2 separate regions of the Homo sapiens genome follow, and region 2 is linked to region 1. Evidence: promoter capture Hi-C in 16 types of primary human blood cells and fetal thymus (Javierre and others, 2016). All regions are on one chromosome and are shown on one strand. The core of a region is centred on a gene start or on the middle of the fragment in contact, and the rest is flanking DNA. Distances in the headings are between cores, read along the strand shown.

Region 1 (7,710 bases), core at 633-3,132:
AAGGAATGTGTGTCCCTGCTGTGACCTTGCTATGACTCAACCCACCCCTCCCAGGCCTGAGATGTGGTTACTTCTGGGGCACTGCAGTGGGAACCTCTCCCTTCTGGTACCCTGTGACCCAGGCCAGCTCAACCCCAGTGGTCCCAGGAGCACATGGATTCAACCCTTAACCAAGATAGGCTGAGGGCAGATTAAGAAGGTGCAAGGAATGAGGGGCTTCCAACCTGCAGGTTGCTCCTGGCTCTGGAGAAAGTTTCCGGAGGGTCCGGGGAGAGCTCAGGACTGGGAAGGGGTGAGGAAATAAGTCAGGGACAGGAAAAGGCAGAAAGGGGAGCATGTACTGACTGCTTGGAATTTGCCTAACATCTAATCAGATATCAGAACCCCTGAAGGGATCCTCTTCCTCTGTGCCTAAAGACAAGCTCCCAGCTAACTACCACTCACAACCCAGGAGACATTTCCCCTGCAATCCTGAGTCTGATCCTTCTTCCTCAGGATGCCCACCCCTCCCCAGACCTTCTCCTTCATTCCCTACATTTAGCACCCAACCATTTAGTTCCAAACTGCCTCCTCTCATCCACCCAGACCACCTTTTAGGAGGACGCCCAGAAGCCTGCACTCGGGCATTTGGAACTGAAAGAAACTCCAAGTGAATTCTCCATCCCCTCCCGTGGAAGGAACCCAGAGCCTCTGGGATGCGCAGTTTGCATTTCCTGCCCTCCCCATCTCCCCGCTGCCCCCCATGTTTTCACGGCTGATTCACTTCTGTCCCACCCACCCAGTGACTCAGCTTCTGCTCTCCTCCCTGGAGCAGGGTGGGGTAGGATGGGTGAACGATTCTGAGCAGGTTTAAATCATAACCCTGATTTGGCAGATTCCCTCTTTCCCCTACTCTTTCTCCCCTCTCCCCTAACCTACGCCCTAGCCTGCCCTCAGTCCCTACTCAAGTCTAATACAACCCTGGATTTGGGGCCTCTTCGGTTCTAGACGCCTCCTGTTTAGGTGCTTCGAACACCGGTATTAGGAGGAAAGGAGTCATTTCTCAGTGTGTGCAGAATTTCAGAGTCTGGGGTTCCCCTCCCCTTTTCTCCAAGTGGAAGCTGAGAACAACATTTGGGTCCTTTCCCCAGCTTGGCCGTCTAGGGTTGTAGGAGCTGGGCCTGCTGGAGCCCATGGGATGGCCCTAAAACCCTCCCATTTCTCCCCCTGCCTCCCCCAAGTTCCCACCTGCACGCACACTCCATCAAGGGAAAATAAATGGAGCAAAAAAGAAGGCCGAGAGCGCAGACACCTTCTGCTGTATCACCAGGTCCCCTGGCTGCACCTCAGCTTCCTGCACTTGCCCCTTCTCCCCCACACAAATGTGCCCCCCAAAGTCGGAAGCGTCAAGGGCCAGGGCGGAAAGGCTTGCCGGGCCACCCACTCCCGTCTCCCCAGGACCCTGCCTGGAGGACGCGGGTCTCACGTGGGCGGGGCAGGGGCGGGGCGCGGACTCACCAGCAGGCGCGCGGGCCGGAAGGCAGCGGCCTCGGCCGAGCAGCAGCGCCCGCAAAGGCGCCTCGTCGTCCTTGGGCGGATGGCACTGCAGTCCTGGGGCGCAGTTAGGGGTGTAGACCCCGCACTCCTGCCCCTCCCTCCTGAGACAGCCCTCAGCTTCCGCGCAGCCCTCGGCTGGCGACCCCCCATCCTCCTCCTCCACGCAGCCCCCTGGACAACCCGCCTGCACCCCTTGCCCGCAGCCTGGGCACCGCGCCAAGGCGCCTCCTGGGCTGGCAGCGAGCAGCAGAGCTAGCAGCAGCAGCAGCGGTGGCAGCAGCCTGTGGGGGGTCATGGTCAGGGTTTGTGCCCCGTCCTCTCCTTCCAGAGCAGTCGCAGCGCAGCTGCTGCCCGCCGCCGCCCCTCTGTCTTAAGTAGCCGCCGGCCAGGGGCCGGGCCCTTTAAGAGCCAGGTGAAGGGGGGTGGGGGAGAGGGCAGGGGCATTCCCTAAACTGGGTGGGACTGGAGAGGGCCCCCCCAACCTGGGTCCTCCCCACTCTTCTTTCCCTCTCCCTTTCCAGTTTCTGTTTACTTCCCAAATTGCTCTGATTTTTCTTGCTTTGTTCCCGGGAATCTCGGCCCGGAATTTGGGAGCTGTACAGCTGGCTGGAGGGACTGGAGGGTGGGGAGGAGCGGAAGAAGGGGAGGACGGGAGTGCAATCCACTTAGTGTGTATGTGTAGGACGACGAGGGGCATGCAGGGACCCGGTGGGGAGTGAGAAGACGGGGGCTGAAAGGGAACTGAGAAGAGATGGTGTGTGTGGATCACAAGAGGAGTGGGCAAATGTGGAGGGACAGAGAAAAGATGGAGAGGGTGGATAACGGGGTCTTGGGAAATTCTACTGCTGATGGGAGAAGTAGAACAGGGCAGAGGAGAGGAAGGGCAAAATTGGGAAAGGAGTAAGAGAAAGCACCCTTGAGGTAAGACTATGGAGAAAAGGGGCCCGAGGGGAACCAGACTGGGGTAAGCCAATGGGGGAAGGGCCGGGAGGCAGGGAGGGATACAACTTGAATGAACCGTAGGAGACCCTAGCATTGTGGTGGGCGCATGCGGAGTCTGGAAGGATTGGAGAGGGCTGTGTGCAGGGTGAGAACTGGCTGGGAGGCAGGGAAAGGGGGAAATTGGCAGGTTGAAACTAGAGAGGGAGAGAATTAAAGGAACTCGTATTCGGGATGCTCTTGGGGACAGTGGCCAGAGAGCAGACCCCACCCCCCTCCCCATCCCCGTCCTTCAGGTAAGCTCGCTCCTCCATTCCTCTCCTCTCCCAGAATCCGTTTCCTTCCCTCCCAGTCATCCATGGGGTTTTCTAGATTCATCAGACTGTCTTGTGCCCAGGGGACTTTGGGGAGGGACTACTCAGCATCTTTGCCTACCTACTTGTCCGCCTTCGCTCCAAGGGTCGGGTTCCACCGCTCCCCACCCGCCTTCCCCAGGCAGTGTCCCGCCCATCCCAGGCACTCCTAGCCAGGCCTCACAAGAGAGAGGAAGAGGGATTGTTTCCTTCGGCAACCCACACCCACCCAACTCTGGGTTATGCAACAGGGACCATCTCATTCTTTCCTAAAACAAGGGCTCTGGGCAGTGACTAAGTTTAAATGCTGGGCCCCAAGCAACAATGTCAGCAAGGCCTTCTTGAACTTTTAGGTAAATAGAAATAATACGAACCTCATTGTCAGCACAGCCCGCTTCGCCATGCAACCCTGGGACCCTAGGACATGTGTTTGGAGAATGGTGTTTTCCTGTTTCCCTGAGATACTGATGCAGACTGGAGAGGCAGGGAGGAGAGGGTTGTGGGGCAGCTGATGGGAGAAGCTACTGCTGATGGGAGAAGTAGACCAGGGCAGAGGAGAGGAAGGGCAAAATTGGGAAAGGGGTGAGAGAAAGCACCCCTTCCACCAAGGCTCTTCAACCCCCTGCCACAAGCTCTGACCAAGCTCCCTGGAACCAAGGCTGTCAGAGATGGGTTCCAGAGTACTGGGGTCCTGCTGCACACCCTTTATCACTATTTATTTTGTCCTACACATGGTTCTGGCTAGGGTCTTAGGGTCTTTCTCCTGGACTTCGGGTTGGTGCTCCTGAATAAGATGGAAAGCCTGTGGGAAGTTGGGAAGGGGAAAGAGATGGCTGTGCTCTTGCAGGATCCCAGTGTGGCTCTTTTTTAAATTTAAATTTTATTTTATTTTATTTTAAGTTCTGGGATACATGTGCAGAATGTGCAGGTTTGTTACATAGGTAAACATGTGCCATGTGGTTTGCTGCCCGTCAACCCAACACCTAGGTATTAAGTCCCGCATACATTAGCTATTTGACCTGATGCTCTCCCTCCCCTAGCCCCTACCCCGCCACAGGCCCCAGTGTGTGTTGTTCCCCTCCCTGTGTCCATGTTTTCTCATTGTTTTCAGCCCCCACTTATAAGTGAGAACATGTAGTGTTTGGTTTTCTGTTCCTGTGTTAGTTTGCTGAGAATGATGGCTTCCAGCTTCATCCATGTCCCTGCAGAGGACATTATCACATTCCTTTTTATGGCTGCATAGTATTCCATGCATTTGGGTTGGTTCTATGTCTTTGCTATTGTGAATAGTGCTGCAATAAACATACATGTGCATGTATTTTTATAATAGAATGATTTATATTCCTTTGGGTATATACCCAGTAATGGGATCGTTGGGTCAAATGGTATTTCTGGTCTGGTTCTAGATTTTTTTTTTTTTTGAGGCAGGTTCTCATTTTATTTCCCAGGCTGGAGTGCAGTGACTCCATCACGGCTCACTGTAACCTTGACCTCCTGGGCTCAGAAGATCCTCCCACCTTAGCCTCCCAGGTAGCTGGGACTACAGGCACACACCACCACGCCTGGCTAATTGTATTTTTAGCAGAGAGGGGGTTTCGACATGTTGCCCAGGCTGGTCTGGAACTCCTGGGCTCAAGTGATCCTTCCGCCTTGGCCTCCCAGAGTTCTGGAATTATAGGTGTGAGCCACTGCACCCAGATTGATGTGGCTCTTTAAAGATGTTTGTCATAGTGATTCATGCCTGTAATCCCAGCACTCTGGGAGGCCAAGGTGGGAGGATCAATTGAGCCCAGGAGTTCCAGACCAGCCTGGGCAACATGACCAAGCCCCATCTCTACTAAAAATACAAAATATCAGCCAGATGTGGTGGTGCATGCCTTTAGTCCCAGCTACCTAGGAGGCTAAGGTGGAAGGGATGAGCCAAGATCACACCACTGCACTCCAGCCTGGAACAACCAGAGTGAGACCCTGTCTCAAAGAAAAAAAAAAAAAAAAAAAAAAAAAAAAAAAAAAGGCTGTGCTACTCCTTTGTAGGTTATCGTTCAGAAAAAGCCCAACACTTTGCCAGCTTCTAACATCCACCACTCCCTCCTCAACCCTCCTCAATTTCCAGCCCCCGCTTCCCACGCTGCTACCACTGCCTCAGATTCTCCCTGCCTGCCGCTCCCACCTGCCCAGCTGTTACTTTCTAGATTCTAAGCCCGATTGCACAGTCCAGTTCCACCCACCACCCCAGGATTACACTTCCCTGTTTCCCCCTCCCTCTAGCATGATCCCCAGTTGTATGGCCATCAGCACTGAGGGTCTAACCGGTCTCTTTGCAGACTGAGACGCTTGAACTCTGCCTTCCTGCCATTGGGATGCCCTCTGCCTTAGTACCCAGGGCAGAAATCTGAAGCACATGTTCAGCACTCAGACCAAGAGTGTGGGCCAAGGTACAAAACTGTCGGATTCTGTCTGGCCTTTGTGTGAGAAGGGTTTGCTGAGAAGTTTCTTCCAGGCTGAGGAAAGGCTAAATAGCTTGGGCTATCACTTAAGCTTTTCCATAAACAAACTCTACTGGAACTTCCTCCTCCGCATCTACATTATACCCTGGTTTTCTGATCCTTCATGCTGTGTCTCTCACACTCAACCCGTCCCTCTAAATTCATGGTGCCCCAAGTGCTGACTTCCTTTTGAGAACAAGGGATAAAGGAAGGGGCCTGCCTGGACCATATTCAGCTTTAAATTTGAGACGAGAAACAGTGGCACAGTCCACAGACAGAAAGTCCCAGAGAGGAAGTTCAATGACCACATCACATCATGACATGGCCTAAGGCTGACGTGGGCCTGATGGGAACTACTGTGTAAACCTCAGCTAACCTGCAGCCTCTGTTTTCTGCCATCTCTCCCACACATACCATCCAAACTGGTCCTGCTGAAATGTGCTCCTGATCCCATAATTCTCTTCTCCTCAAGGATTTCGGGGGCACTTTACTTTTTATTTCTTGGTTTTTAAATTTTACTTTAAGTTCTGGGATGTATGTGCAGAATGTGCAGGTTTGTTACATAGGTAAACATGTGCCACAGTGGTTTGCTGCACCTATCAATCCATCACTTATGTATTTATGTTTTTTGTTTTTCGTTTTTTTTGAGACGGAGTCTGGCTCTGTCGCCCAGGTTGGAGTGCAGTGACGCGAACTCGGCTCACTGCAACCTCTGCCTCCTGGGTTCAGGTGATTCTCCTGCCTCAGCCTCCTGAGTAGCTGGGATTACAGCCACGTGCCACCGTGCCCGGCTAATTTTTGTATTTTTAGTAGAGACGAGGTTTCACCATGTTGATCATGCTGGTCTCCAACTCCTGACCTCATGATCTGCCCGCCTCAGCCTCTCAAAATGCTGGGATTACAGGCATAAGCCACCATGCCCAGTCCATATATTTATGTATTAAACCCCACATGCCTTAGCTATTTGATCTGATGCTCTCCCTCCCCTTGCCCCCCGACCCCACAGGTCCCGGTGTGTGTTATTCCTCGATGTCCTCCCCTACCATAGAACCTGTGCTCCACCTGACATTCAGGGTCCCGTAGACAATGACCCTGAAACACACTCTGCTTCAGTTAGCTGGCTGAATCACCTTCCCCAGAACCCCCTGGTAGTTTCTCATCTTGGGGATTGAAATGGGATAAGGGGAAATGAGGATGAGGCATAATTGGTGCTCAGAGATCATTTCTTCCCCTGAACTCCAAGCTTTCAGCTTACAAGGACCCTCCCTTCACTCCCCTCATCACTAGCCACATTCTTTTTTTTTTGAAACAGGGTCTCACTCTGTCACCCAGGCTGGAGTGCAGTGGCTCAGTCACAGCTCACTGCAGCCTCAACCTCATGGGCTCAAGTAATCCTTCCATTTCAGCCTCCAGAGTAGTTGGGACCACAGCCACGCACCACCACATCTGGCTAATTTTTTAATTTTTTAGGCCAGGTGTGCTTACTCACGCCTGTAATCCCAGCACTTTGGGAGGCCGAGGTGGGCAGATCACCTGAGGTCAGGAATTCGAAACCAGCCTGGTGAAACCAACATGGTGAAACCTCGTCTCTACTAAAAATACAAAAAAATTAGCCTGGCATGATGGCGCATGCCTGTAATCCCAGCTACTTGGGAGGCTGAGGAAGGAGAATTGCTTAAACCCAGGAGGCGGAGGTTGCAGTGAGCTGAGATCACACCATTGTACTCCAGCCTGTGCAACGAGAGCGAAACCCCCCTCAAAAAAGAAAAAAAAGTATTTTATATAGACAGGATCTTATTATTATATTGTCCAGGCTGGACAATATAGGAGCTTGAGCTCCTAGACTCAAGTGATCCTCCCACCTCAGCCTCCCAAAGTACTGGGATTACAGGCATGAGACACCACACCTAGCCCATCATTAACCAAATTCTGGCACCTCTTCCTCACCTACTTGGCCAGTTGACACCCTGCCTTCCTTTTAATTCATCCACATTATTGTGTTGCTATTTTATATTTTTGCTCCTCTTTTCCTGCATCATTTTTCCAGTTAGATTGTGGGTGTTTTGAGAATAGGGCCCCCATTCCTTTTTTATCTCTGGGCCTCCAGCTTCCAGCCCATAGAAGGACTTTAGAATAGACACCAGGAAATATCGGTGTTTTTGGTGGGAGCAAAGGCAGTCCTGGGGGAGGGACAGAGAGGTGACGGAGATACTGCAACACTTCTGGAGGCTCCGCCATCCTCCTGGACCTAGGCGCTAGCCCAGCCTACTCCAGGAGCTCTCTTGGCCCTCCCACCCCTTCAGCGCTTCCTCTCTCTTTTCTTCATCTTCTCCCTGCTCTCAGGTAAAGGCCAATAGTCTGAGAGGCCCAGAGTGCTGTCAGGAGAGGGAAAACTG
Region 2 (6,009 bases), core at 3,510-6,009, 230 kb before region 1:
TGCTTCTCAAGCTTATTTCCTGCTGTCCCTCAGCCTCCAGGCTTCAGTCTTCCCAACTTCTTACACCATTGCTTTCCATTCTCCAGAACTCTTTTTTCCTTTTTACAAACACAATGATAATGATAATTTATTGCCCCCTGGTGGCCTCTTCATCAGGGGTATTGGGGTTAGTGACCTGGCCAGAGGGTGCCAAGAGGGGGGCAGACCAGTGGGGATCTGATCCCAAAGATGGGGTGACCCCAGGGTCAGGGAGGCTGCCCCCAGGCCTGTATATTTAACCCCTATGTACCAGGAGTAATGAATAGTAATAATTCTATTTATGTAAGTTATGATGACGGGTCAGGTAGAGTGAGCTGGGGAGGGAAGTGGATCCATTTCTGCTAAGGAAATTCTAGTCAAATGCATCTCTGTATAGACAAAATGTTAGTGGAGAAGATCTTGTTAATAGAATGTCTATCATCAGAATCTCAGTTGATAGGGTTTCTCTTGTAATGAAGTCTCTACAAATTGGGTTAGCTACATCTCTGCTAAACAGTTGATGGGGTATCTCTTGATTAGGGGGATCCCTAATATCCCCAGCCCCAGCCAGAAGCTGTGAAACCTCAAGTCCTATGGAGGGGAGAAGGACTGGAATGTACCCCATCTCCCTTGACTGCAGAGCAGGTTCCTCCACTGCCCCACCCCTTAGACACCATGACCCCATCAGGTTAATCCCCTGTTGCCATGGTTATGGAGAGCTTGCAGCTGCCATCTTAGATGTGCTCTTTGGGGAAGCCCATCTAACAGGAGGACATTGGTTTGGGGGTGCACCTCCTGAAGAATGGGTGGGGAAGGCTTTCTCTAGGATCAGATTCAAATAAGTATGTATTGAGTGCCTACTCTGTGCAAGGCACTATGCTAGATCTGGTGCCTAGAAGCCCTGAGAAAGAACTTAAAGAGCTAGGAGGACAGAGGCCCCCAAGCTGATCTGGTGGTGCATCCACGCACCCCCACCCTGGGACTTTGGATGCTCCCATCTCCACCTCCAGTGACTTTTAAAGCCGCTTCGTGCCTTTCCTGTAACGTTGGATCCTCCTTTTCTGTCCCCTGCTGTCTCAAGGCCCCAAGTTAAAGGGTTAAAGCCGCTGGAGCTTGGGGAGAGAACATTGTGGAATGGAAGGGATCATGCCCTTTGTGGAGTCTTTTTTTTTTAATTTAATAAATAAAAGTTGGATTTGAAATTTTGTCCTGGTGAGAAAAGGAGAAGAGGAAGGGTGAAGCGAGGGCCAATGGTTTTTTTTCCTTAGCAAATTGGGGACTACTCATGGGCGAATATTCTATTGTGCACGTTTGCTCACCTATGCTCGCGGTAAAATAGTTTATCGGCCGGGCGTGGTGGCTCACACATGTAATCCCAGCACTTCGGGAAGCCCAGAAGGGCGGATCACCTGAGGTCAGGAGTTCGAGACCATCCTCGCTAACATGATGAAACCCTGTCTGTACTAAAAAATACAAAAATCAGCCGGGCGTGATGGCAGGTGCCTGTAATCCCAGCTGCTTGGGAGGCTGAGGCAGAAGAATCGTGGAACCTGGGAGGTGGAGGTTGCAGTGAGCTGAGATCGCGCCACTGCACTCCAGCGTGGGCTGCAGAGCGAGACTCCGTCTCAAAACAAAACACAAAACAAAATTGTTTCTCGGTCAAATCCTCCAGCGGTGTTCAGTTTTTGGGCGTGCAGTGCTTTCTGCAGAGTTGGGAAGACTCACTGGTTTCTACCCTGGCCCTTTCTGGACTGCACCAACTGACCCTGGTCAGGGCAGTGACGCGACCCGAGCGCGGGCACCGCGGTTGCAGTGCGGACTCCTGCGCGGCCCCAGTCGGGCGGTGGTGCGGCTCCCGGCGGGCAGACTGGGCCTGGCACGTAACCCGCCCCCTGCCCTGGGTCTGCAATCAGTCGTGCCCGCCACGGAGTTAGCCGAAGAACAAAAACCACTCTGTGGCAGCATCCCCGAGCCACAATAGGGCTTTGTGCGGCCCCCGCCCCCCAAGGTTACCCCGCTGGGCTGAGGGGGCTCACAGGCCGCTCCCCCCGGCCTGGGCCCGACTCCCAGCTGCGCCCCGCGTCGGACTGTCCACCGCACGGGTCGCAAGAGGGGCTGCTACGGGTGGGAGGGGGCCGGCGATCCTGGGGGGGCTCGGGTTACGAGCCCCCTCCCCACCCTGACGCCACTCCCGCCCCCGCCCAGGTGCGAAATCTCCTGCCCTCCGGCTGGGCGCGCGACTTCAAAGGCGCTTTGAAGAAATCCGAGTTCCGAAGACTTCTTTAGTGGGCTGGGGGCTGTGACGGAAGAGACCCGGGAGAGGGGGCTGGGGCAGAGGAAAGGCGGGGGGCGCCTTGGAGCTGGTCTGAGCGAGGCGGCGGCCTGGAGTGGAACCCCGGGATCCCGCCTCAACCCCGCCGGGCGGGCTCCTCCGGACCCCCCAGAGTCTGGCCCTCTCGCCTCCCGGTCTCCGCCTGTCCGGTGCCAGCTCCCGCCCGCCGCAGCCTCGCGGTCCTCCCCTCCCCAACCCTTCGGCCCCTTTCATCTTCCCTAGACTCCGCTTGGGGTTTTGCTGGTTTCTGGGAGATAAAAACCGCTTCAAATAGCGGCGGCGCGCTGCCAGGACAAACAGGGCCGGGCGGGCCATGTGCGCCTGGTTACCGGCCCCGGGTCGGGACGCCGGGCTCCAGCGGGCCCGGGAAGGGGTAGCGGGCGGAGCTCCGGGCACCCAGGCTCCGGTGACGACTCCCAAAGTAGGGGGCCCCTTTTAGAAGCGGCCTGCGCGCTCTCTCGGTTCCCGCCCAGGTCGTAGGGAGGGGCCGGCGGAGACCGCCCGCTAAGCGCTCGGAGCCCATAGGGCGTGGGTCACGGTCGCTGCGTTGCCTGGCCAGCCGCGCCCCCTGGTGAAGTTACTGGGTGAGCGCGCCGGGCCTGGACTTGGGCCTTTCTAGAACCCGCAAATGGTGAAAAGCGTTCCACAAACGTTAAATAAGCAGTATGGAGGAGGGGACAGTACTTGTGCCAGGCCAGGGCGGGGGCAGCGGGCGGAACAGCACTGTTCCTTCTCTCCAGTTCACCTTACAGGGTAAGAAGCAGGCACCTAACCGATCATTATAACCTGATGGTGAAAATCGAGGTTTCATCGAAGGATGCAAGTTGCAGGCCGGAGTGATTTTTCCTAGGGGTATCTGGGTTTGGATGGTGTTACGACTAAGGTACAAACGGAAACTATCGTGGGTCCTCAGTGCTCTCCACTAATCTGTCAGTCACCGACTTCCTCTCCCTCAAACCTGCCCACTTCCCCTTCTCAGGGAGGCTTTCCCAGCCAGGTTCCCCAAACCATCCCCAGTGTATACCTTATGTTCTTCAAGCTTTCTGTGACTTCCCAGGTGACGGTGAACTCACATAGGAAATTAAATGGGGCTATGGGAAAAGGTTAGAGCAGGGGTCGCGCCACGGCCCGTCGTGTCGGTGGCCTGTAAAGGAACCGCACAGCCGGAGACGAGCTGAGCAAGCTGAGCTCCGCCTCCTGTCAGATCAGCGGCATTAGATTCTCATAGTAGCGCGAACTCTGTTGTGAACTGCGCACGTGAAGGACCTAGGTTGCCCGCTTTTTATGAGAATCCAACTAATGCCTGATGATCTCAGGTGTAACAGTTTCATCCCCAAACCATTCCCTCCCCCGCTCCCCCTGGAAAAACTGTCTTCCACTAAACCTGGTGCCAAAAAGTTGGGGACCGCTAGGTTAGAGCCTTGCTACTTAAAATGTGGTCTGTGCAGTATCAGCTGGGGATTCTTTGGAACTATAGCCTCTGAGCGCCACCTTAGGAGATGCTCAGGTGATTCCTATGTCCCTTAACAGTTGAGAAGTACTAGATTAGAGGAGATCCACTTGCCTTCTCAGGTGAAGTGCATTTTCAGGAGACTCTGGAGCCCTTTGTTTTCTGACCTGGTAATAACTCTCTTGGGGGGAATTTTTCAGGTGAAAAAGAAGGGCAGACACGGAATCCAGAATACTAGAACTAAATGCCCCCTAGATTATTCAATGAGACTGGTAGCTCTTGGGAGTGGGGACAGCCTTCTACATCTTCAAATCACTTAACATTTGTTAATGAACTCTGACCAAGGTCACCTAGTTGATGGCACAGTTATAGCTATTAACCTCTGACATTTGTTTAGCACTTTAAAATTTATTAAATAGCTTCATTTTATTATTTTGTATGGAAAACAACCATATGAAATAATTAGGACACTGCAAATGAGAAAAGTGAGACTCAAAGAATTCAATGTTTTTTCCAAAGTCTGTAAGAGGGGCCCCCATTCTCTTTCTTTCTTTCCTTTCTTTCTCCCTCTCCCTTCCCTCCCATTTTTTTTTGTTTTGTTTTGTTTTTTGTTTTTTTTTTTTTTTGAGACGGAGTTTCGCTCTTGTTGCCCAGGTTGGATGGAGTGCAGTGGCGCGATCTCTGCTCACTGCAACCTCCGCCTTCCAGGTTCAAGGGATTCTCCTGCCTCAGCCTCCCGAGTAGCTGGGATTACAGGCATGCACCACAATGCCTGGCTGGTTTTGTATTTTTTAGTAGAGATGGGGTTTCTCCATGTTGGTCAGGCTGGTCTCGAAATCCCGACCTCAGGGGATCAGCCCACCTCAGCTTCCCAAAGTGCTGGGATTACAGGCGTGAGCCACCGCGCCCGGCTCTTTCTCTCTGGCTTGCTTGACAGGGTCTCGCTCTTTGACCCAGGCTGGAGTGCAGTGGTGCTATCTTGGATCATTGTAGTCTGGATTCTCCTATCTCAGCCTTCTGAGTAGCTGGACTAAAGACGCTTGCCACCACCACGCTGGCTAACTTTTGAATTTTTTGTAGATACAGGGTCTTGCTATTTTGCCCAAGCTGGTCTTGAACTCCTGGGCTCAAGAGATCAGCCTCGGCCTCCCAAAGTGCTGGGATTACAGGTGTGAGCTACCACACCCAGCCTTACTTTTATTCTTAAGTGAGAATAACTGGTTTGGGTGTATCTAGGTCCAATCTCTCTGTGACTCACTTTCCTCATGGTGACAGAACAGCACCCACCTTATGGGGTTGTAAAGATTATAAAAGCACTTATCGTAACAAGTGCTCAGGAAATAGTTTTGCAGCCCGGCAAGGTGGCTCAGGCCTGTAATCCCAGCAATTTGGGAGGCCAAAGCAGGCAGATCACTTGAGGTCAGGAGTTTGAGACCAGCCTGGCCAACATGGTAAAACCTCGTCTCTACTAAAAATACAAACTTAGCTGGGCGTGGTGAAGCATGCCTGTAATCCCAGCTACTCCAGAGGTTGAGGCAGGATAATCGCTTGAACCGGGGAGGCAGAGGTTGCAGTGAGCTGAGATAGCACCACTGCCTTCATCCTGGGCAATAGAGCGAGACCCTGTCTCTCAAAAAAATAAAATAAAATAAAGTTTTCCTTTTTGAGACGAAGTTTCCCTCTTGTTACCCAGGCTGGAGTGCAATGGTGCGATCTTGGCTCACTGCAACCTCCCCCTCCGGAGTTCAAGAGATTCTCCTGCCTCAGCCTCCCGATTAGCTGGGATTACAGGTGCCCGCCACCACGCCCGACTAATTTTTGTATTTTTAGTATAGATGGGGTTTTCAGCATGTTGGCCAGGCTAGTCTGCGAACTCCTTTCAGATGATCCACCCACCTCGACCTCCCAAAGTGCTGGGATTACAGGCGTGAGCCACCGCGCCTGGCAGGAAATGTTAGTTTTCCAACCGTCCCCACCTCCCTTTCCAGGACGCCTAACCGTGTGGGTGCAGCACTGTTCCTCCTCTCTGAGGCTTTTCCCTCAGCTTTCCAGCCAGCTGCCTGTGACATAGCCTGTATTTTCCTCTGGGTGATCCACAGGCCTGGGAGGATTAATTTGGTACTTCCCTGAATGTGGCTTATTTCGGGCTTTCTAAGCGCTAAGATAGTGAGTGGGAGAAGGTGTTCGGGAATTCGGAGCTGGGAAAAAC

What was found. Contacts are between HindIII fragments. The CHiCAGO score rates a contact against its expected background, and 5 or more counts as called.
Region 2: a fragment that was not itself captured here is called in contact with the fragment with the promoter of IGFBP6 in region 1 in 1 of 17 cell types (fetal thymus); the score reaches 5.1 in fetal thymus.

What each region holds. Positions count from the first base shown.
Region 1 is chr12:53,091,839-53,099,548 of GRCh38, reverse strand. IGFBP6 (insulin like growth factor binding protein 6) reads right to left here and starts at 1,882. Exons shown (of 4, transcript NM_002178.3): 1 at 1,498-1,882. The coding sequence starts at 1,831. RefSeq lists silencers at 1-77, 1,365-1,484, 1,495-1,574. The HindIII fragment of the contact is 8,294 bases long and covers 1-5,368 here.
Region 2 is chr12:53,321,786-53,327,794 of GRCh38, reverse strand. SP7 (Sp7 transcription factor) reads left to right here. Exons shown (of 3, transcript NM_001173467.3): 3 at 1-1,220. Among named protein-coding and RNA genes, the nearest start is that of AAAS, 3.2 kb to the right of the region's middle. RefSeq lists enhancers at 1-8, 3,273-4,006 and a silencer at 2,460-2,959. The HindIII fragment of the contact is 2,736 bases long and covers 3,392-6,009 here.